Linked DNA regions of Homo sapiens: region 2 is linked to region 1. Evidence: promoter capture Hi-C in human tissues and cell types (Jung and others, 2019). All regions are on one chromosome and are shown on one strand. Each heading gives the region's core, a stretch centred on a gene start or on the middle of the fragment in contact. The rest is flanking DNA. Distances are from core to core; before and after follow the strand shown.

Region 1 (3,896 bases), core at 665-3,164:
AAAAAGTACTAAAGTACAGTTTACTTAATATTATCATTGATTTACTGTTTAAAATATTTCCCTAAAACGCAAAATTGCATTAAAATACAGAAGCTGAGAAAGCTCCATCTTTCCAAATCATTTTACTGGCAGACACACAAGTAGTTCATTTGAAAGTATTAAAACTCTGAAACATGTTAACATAAGCTAAGTTTAAGGAAAAGATCATATCATATAATATTACACATTAGAGACAACACTAAACACTTATTATAAGGCTAACTGTTCCCACTAAAATATCACACTTAAGGTAAAAATGAAACTTCTGCTACTTATAACTCTTTTTTCTAATCTATTACTGCTAATCACAACACAAACTTATGCTATAACCATAATCTCAATTAACTCCAAGAATGAAAAATCTGTAGAATTTAGAAATATAAAATGAACTTCAAACAACTAAAAATACGTACTGTAGAAGTTACAATCAACCAGTAAGTATTTATCATATGCCAGGCTCTGTGCTTAGATTAAGTACAAACAGCAAAGTATAAAGTTCCTCAAAGTTAGTCACGTTCCAAGGACCTGAAATTTCAGGCAAGTACGTGCTTTACCATCACTTTTCACAAAATAAAAGCCACTCACCTACAAATGTTTGTATTTCCTTTTTGGCCCATGTAGGAATACTTCCCATTGCCCACTAAAACTGTTTCCTATTCAGTTCAGCCCATAAAAATGCCCAATCCGGTCAGTTCCTCACGTCAGGATCCTCACAGTACTTAAAGTGAAAGGCTTCGAAAAAGGTATTTCATCAAATCACAAGGTTCAGTATTTTATGTTCAGTGACACCTACACCTGCAGATACTACAACACATAACTGGGCTAACCTGGGTCAAGTACCTAGTTGCACCGATTTAGTTCTTCCCCTTAAAGTGTTGCTAGTAAAGGCAAACTCTACTTCTTCAAAAAGTCGGCTTTTTGCAATGCCCATTAGGCACTAGAAAAGGGAAATTGATTGGTTCGTCATAGTTGCCCTACTTCCATTTCAGGTCCAAAGAAAAAAACTATTCCATAGGGAGTAACAAGGGGGCCACACGCAAATCAAGGTGGCAGATGCTAAACTGAACTTTGTGATGACCACGATTTAACCGAAAAGGTGATGGATGTGGGGGAGGGGGATGACCCAACTGAGCCATACATGTGCAGCTTGAGATAAAAAAGTCCACTTCATGAAGCAGTCAAAGTAGAGGGTGGGAAACAAACCGGTCGGGCCGAGCAACAACCCCAGGGTGCTGACCGAGCTCGGAGGCGGAGGGCCCTGGAGCCCAGGGACCAGAGAAAGGAGACCTAGGGCAAACCATAGGATCACAAGAACCAGCAGTAACGTGGAAAGGCCAACGCTGCCACAGAGTAGCGTGTAAGGGGACACGAAGAAGGGAGCGATGAGTTAGAAGGGAGTGACAGCAGGAGGGAGACCAGTGCCAGGGGCGAGTGGCAAGTGGCAACTGCGAAAGGCGAGGCACTGGCAGCCGGAGGTGGTGGGACTCTGTTGAGTCAGCACAGCTCCTACTCTGAGGGCACTTGTAGGATCCCCGCTGCTCCTCGGGCCCTGGAGCCCACGGCGAAGGGTCAGGCCCACCTTCCGTACAGATGATGTTCTCTGACGGGCTGGCGCCGGCCCCTTCCCCATTTCACAGGTAAACACTGGCCACCGTCGCCGCTTACCTCAGTTAACATTATTACACCCCGGGGAAGTGAGGTCCTCCCTAGCCTCGCCTCATGGCAACAGCCGTAGCAGCAGCGAAAACTGCTCGGGCCGCCGCCAACGGCGGCAACTGCTCCTTCAGTCTTCTCCCGGGCGGCGGTTTTACTCGGCTTCGCTGGCCTCCCCTCGGCCCGGTCGCTCGCGACGGACGCGCCGCCATCTTGGAAGAGCGACGTCCGCGTCTCGCTGCAACGTGCGTTCCCATTGGCGGGCGCAGGGGCTGCTGGCGTCTCGTGACCGTCTCCATAGCGCCGGCGCGCGGAGAAGCGGAGGTAGGCTGTCGGCAGTCGGCTTGGCGCTGACTTGTAGGACCCCGGGACCGGGCGCCTGGGCCAACTTGGGACCGCTGGGAGTGCAGAGGGGCCCCAGCGCCCGAGCCTTCCGGGAATGGACGTGCGCGCCCTTGGGGCCGGCGCATCATCCACCGCCCACTAGCGTTGGCCCGCCCTGGGGAGAGGAGAAAATGCCAGAGGCCGACACTTGACTGATGGCGCTGCGGACCTCGCTGGTCTTGGGGACAAGGCGGCAGATTTCCTTTAGAAAAACTTCCCTCTCGCGTCTCCCTGGCCCCGCGGCGACCGAAGAGTTGGGGTTCGGCTTTCTTCTCCTGGGATTTAAGTGTTATTTGAAACAGCTCCCTGCGCGGCCCTTTTCTCCTAAACTTTGACAGAAACTTCCCTTTGTCCCTACCAATCCTCAGTGAGTTCTTTACAGGGGTCCGAGACAGGTTGTAGATATGATGCGGCTTATCGGCTTTACCCCGATCCTAGCGGAGTTAGGACTTGCTGATGTAATTGGCCAGCACCTGCCTAACAATGAAGGTTTAGTTATGCTACAAGTAATGCACCTCTAAAAAAACGTAAAACAGGCTTTACGTTTTACCTGCTATCTCCACAGGTTTACTAGCTGCTTAATACAATATGCTTGTATATCAAGGTGAGCAAATTTCAGCAAATGTCATTGTAAATAGTCCCAACTTAAATGGAATTGAACTCTGGAACTCAATGTGCATAGAAGTCCCTGAGACTGACGCCATTCTAGATCTACCACTAGATGGTTTGCGATGTACGGAATTAAAGGCAGTCACTTCTACCTGAATTGTGATGAAAGTAGTTTACCTGAACATGCTGGGAAAGTGTGCTACCCTGTTTTGTATTAGAAACCAGTTTCCAAGTAAATTGAAAAGCAAATTTTCAGACTTGACATTAAAAACACCTCCATGTCATTCTTACAAGAGGTACAAAAGCATTTTAGAAAACTAAAGCCAGGAGTTTCTTCCCTTTTACCAGAATCTTTTCCCTCCATTTAACAATAGTACTGTTGTGCTAAATGAAATTTACTTAATGTATTACTCTTACAGTCTCAAAACAATAAGGGCATTGCAAACCTTGTATTATCTCTATCGTGTCAAGGAAACAAAACGGTTCATTTAAGCAGTCATGCAAAAAATTCAAGAAAAACTGATTTTGCTCAATTCAACTAATTGAAGCAAAGTAGTTTTTCTTGTTGTTTTAATCTGCATTTTGTACATCATTTCCACATTGCTGGACCAGCAAAATTCTGACCTCTGCAATACAATAAAATGTGTTACTGGTATTGACAGATGAAGCCACAAATAGAAAATGAGCATGGAAATCCTACCTGGACTGAGGTATCAAAGGATACCAAGAGATACTAGAGACAACAAGGAACCTGGAAAAAGATAGTGTTCCAACCTGTAAATAAGAAAACAGAGAAGGAGGTTCATTAATATTTAAGATACCAGCTAGTAAATTAAAACAGCAATGTAGTTGTCTGGCTTGAGTATTCAGTTTTATTTACTACATCTTTTTATCTTTTCTAGAAGCAAGGCATTAAGTGTTGACACTTGAGTATTGAACCAATCTGTGATATGACATGAATATGCCTTTAACTTTCAGAAGTTTGTCTACAGACTTACAAGGAAACCAAAAGTAGTCGCTCTTCCAATGGCTTCCTAATTTTCTCAGCCTGAGTCTTTTCTGCAACCTAAAAATCCTATGCTAGCTGGCCTCCCAAGTCCTACCTCACCTCCACCCCTCTGACCTCATTTCTGCTAAGCACTTTGTTCCAGTTACACAGACCTGCTCCCTGCTTCTGTAACACCAAGGCATCTTCTTGCCCTGAGGCCCTT
Region 2 (4,104 bases), core at 1,126-3,625, 250 kb before region 1:
ATATTTACATTCTTTAACACTCTTACTTTGCTCCATTGAAAGACTTTCCCTCAAGCTCCCACTCCTGTGTCCCCTGAGACTACTGTAAGTTTCTAGAGCTGATGAAACCACCTGTAGGGTAGAAAGACCAGAATAGGGCGTGTGGTTTAGCAAGTCTTTTCTAGAGTTATTCTTGGCCCTGAGCACCACTAGCATGGTGGGTGTTTCTGGCTGAATCTGTCTGGTTGTCCTCATGCTGCACACTCTGACGGGTGACCTGAGGCCATGAGTCAGCATTGTGGTAACATTCCTTCTCATTACACCAGCCATTCTGCTTGAGTAGTCCTCAGAAAAGGGAACCATTTTTTAGGTAGGAAAACAAGCTTCTCGTTGTGGTCTATAACCTCTTCTCTCCTCTGGGTTCAGGGCGGGAGAGTTACAATGCCCAGAGAAGGGCATGCCTCTTCCAGCCCCCTAATACATATAACCACATTTGATTCTCATCATAACCCTGCAATGTTGTTCCCAGCAAGATGGTCTGTCACAGAATCCTTGTATGTGTATGTCCTTGTAGGTCAAGGCTTCTTAGCTTTCTGCCATTTGACAATTCTCCCTTTGTATGGGGAACGAGTGAACTTGACATGACCTGAATACACAGAATCCCAAGGCTTGGACCATTCCAGTCCCAAGAGATAATTTATATAAAATAAATCAAAGGAGGAGTAGAAAGTATGTGATTGCTTCAGTCTTTGTTTTGTCCTGTGTTGTGATAGTTTTACCAAGCACATGGCTCAGAGGAGGACCAAATGAGAAAGTGAAGCATTTATAACAAGATACCATCACTGTAGATTAACCTGAGTACAAAGGAAGAAGGTGGACACCTTACCCTGGGGGGAAGCAGGAAACAGACCCTATACCTGGAGCTGGCCTGCGGATATCTCCATGTCTGCCTCCCAAGATTGTAGGGTTGACAGATTTACACTGTTTCAACATGTAAAACGAAGAGGTGAAAACTTCACCAGCAGAAGGCTGAGAAACCACTATGAGCAATGCCTGCTCTTAATTCATGTTACCTTAAGTATAAAATAAAAAGGACTTAGTTGAAAAAACTCCTACCAGATTCCTGTTTTATGAAATTCTGAATTTTTTTATGTCTTAATCAAAAAACCTAAATATTTTAGGGCATGGAAAGGAGAATAGATTCACCCTTGAGCACTAGCCTAAATTAGTTATGAATTATTATGTTTATTTTGCAGGTGAGAAAATTGAGGCTCAGAAAGTCTGGAACTTTCTCTTTCCTCACATCCCTTTCGACAGTAGGGCACACGTCAAAACTGGTCATTTGGGAACAGTATGTTTTGGTACAATTCTTCCTTTCTTTCATGGACAAGAGTAATATTAATTTGATCAAAATAAGGCAAATGGACTTTGGCTTTAATAGAATTTTTATATCAAATATTTCCAGATAACAATGAAGTTCTAATCTGCAAAAGCTGCAGGTGTTGTTAGAAGAACCATCCTTCTATGGGTGGGGTGCAGTGGATCACGCCTGTAGTCCCAGCACTTTGGGGGCCAAGGAGTTCAAGACCAACCTGGACAACATGGTGAAACCCCATCTCTACTAAAAATACAAAAATTAGCCAGGCATGGAGGCACATGCCTGTTAATCCCAGCTACTCAGGAGGCTGAGGTATGAAAACTGTTTGAACCTGGGAGGCAGAGATTGCAGTGGGCCGAGATGGTGCCACTGCACTCCAGCCCGGGTGAAAGAGCGAGACTCCATCTCAAAAGAAAGAATCATCGTCCTATGAATTGGAATCTTATAAAAATAGCGCATCAACCAAATTGGGACAGAATTATTATATATATACATACGAAGAGAAAAATGGGAGACTGCCATGTGGGTCAGTGCCCTCAGGAGTCCCCAGCCAGAATCCCTCCCCCAGCACCACATCCAACTCCTAACTGTCCACACCTTGGCCAAACTCTGGGCATATCTGGACACTGGGAACATGTCCCTTCCCTGCCCCCTACAAACCATCGGCCACATTTCCACAATATGGGCATGGTTCTGCCTGTCCCTGGCTGCTGGAGACATCCTGGTGTCAGAGCTCCTGTTGGCAGTGCACAGTGTTGACGGGGAGCCATGAGTGCTGATGTAGCTAACAGTGCTCACCAACTGGTATTGTGCAGGCCTCACCCTGCTAGGTTTGCCCTCTGAGGCACCCTGAGCAAGCCAGCTAACAGCCAAAGGTGCTGTTCCTGGGAGTCTCAGCCACCCAGTTTCTGAATGACCCCAAGGGTTAGAGAGATCCACAGTTTGAAGCACCACCACAATGCATTTGCAACACTGTGGTTGGTAGACTCCAGTGTAGGTATCACGGATAAGCAGAGGTTGTTTTACAATCAGTATTTCTGATTTCTAAAGCCATCTCTTTCCACTAGGCCCCAAAGCTACAGAGGGTGAAGGCTAAGATCAAAGGAGTGGTGTTCTTGGAAAAACCAGAAGCAGAACTCATAGCATCAACACAACTGACCACAAGAGCAACAGTGCAGCAGAAGAATGGCCTCCCACAATGTAAGTTATAAGGTGACAACCTGGAGATAGGTCTCATCCCTCTCATGCCTCAGAGTAGGGAGAAGATATCAAGCAGATTACACTAGGCCCCGCTGACATCTAGGACTTTCCTTTGCAGACTACTTCTATGCTCTCTGGCATCTATAGCTCCATGAACCTTATTCTGCTCATTTCATTTGTTTCTAATTCAGAGGTGGTCACTTTCAATTGCCCAGTCTTTTAAAGGTGGGGAATTTTTGGATGGACTGAGCAAAGCCTTGAAGCAAAAGCAAGGATCTTTCTGGTCCCAAATACAAGTGGGATTTGAAGGTACCTGTTGCTGAGTAACCTCCGCTGTTTCCTCTCTGCTCCCTCTCAAGAACAAATCCTCCACCAAAGTCGGCTTGGATCTCACAATGCTTCATCATGAAGACGTGAGCAATCTTTCAAACTGATCTCCTTCTGCAAAGTTGGGGTGCAAAAGTCTTCCAGCCCAGGAGGTCATTGAAACCTTTAGCCTAACTCTTCCCATATTCTCTTTTCAAGTTTGTTGTTGTAGCTGTTGCTGCTGTTTTGGTGTTATCACTACTGAAATATAGTTCATTTGCCATAAAAGTTTACTCTTTTAAGGTGTACAATTCAGCGATTTTTTTTTTAGTATATTCACTTGTGCAGCCATATCCACTAACTCGAGAACCTCTTCATTACCTGAGAGAAACCCTTTAACCATTAGTAATCACCTCAATTCCCTCCTTTTCCCAGCTGTGGCAACCAATAATCTATATTTTGTCTATGGATTTACCTTGTCTGGACATTTCATGTGAGTGGAATCATACAAAATGTGGCCTTTTATATCTGGCTGTTTTCACTTTTGTTTTCAACGTTCACCCCCATTGTAGCACGTGTCAGTACTTTATGCCTTTGATGGCTAAATAACATTCCACTGTATGAACATACCACATTGTGCTTATCCATCCATCCATGGATGACATTTAGATTGTTTCCACCTTTTAGATAAGATGAAAAATCCTGCTATGAACATTCATTTACAAGTTTTTATGTATTTGTAAAATTTTTCAAAAACATACTCAAAAACTTTTTTTTCAAATAGAAAGCTTTAGCTTTAATAACTATTGCCTCTGGGAATAATTTTGGTCTTATTGCCTGTCTTGTCAAGGCTGAACAATGATCCTTTATTACTCTTTTTTTTTTTTTTTTTTTGAGACGGAGTCTCGCTCTGGCACCCAGGCTGGAGTGCGGTGGTGCAATCTCGGCTCACTGCAAGCTCTGCCTCCCGGGTTCACGCCATTCTCCTGCCTCAGCCTCCCAAGTAGCTGGGACTACAGGCGCCCGCCACCACACCTGGCTAATTTTTTGTATTTTTAGTAGAGACAGGGTTTCACCGTGTTAGCCAGGATGGTCTCGATCTCCTGACCTGGTGATCCACCCGCCTCGGCCTCCCAAAGTGCTGGGATTACAGACTTGAGCCACTGTGCTGGACCGATCCTTTATTATTCTTAAACATCTCTAGAAACTTAGCCTCACCAAGGTAATACGGTACTTGGTTG

The links. The method cuts DNA at HindIII sites, captures the fragments that hold promoters and counts their contacts. A contact is called where the count stands out against the background at its distance.
Region 2: a fragment that was not itself captured here is called in contact with the fragment with the promoter of SNX13 in region 1 in 1 of the 25 tissues and cell types used here (hippocampus).

What each region holds. Positions count from the first base shown.
Region 1 is chr7:17,938,580-17,942,475 of GRCh38, forward strand. SNX13 (sorting nexin 13) reads right to left here and starts at 1,915. Exons shown (of 26, transcript NM_015132.5): 1 at 1,705-1,915. The coding sequence starts at 1,716. The HindIII fragment of the contact is 14,565 bases long and covers 1-3,896 here.
Region 2 is chr7:17,689,996-17,694,099 of GRCh38, forward strand. No RefSeq gene overlaps it. Among named protein-coding and RNA genes, the nearest start is that of LINC02889, 130 kb to the left of the region's middle. The HindIII fragment of the contact is 6,266 bases long and covers 1-4,104 here.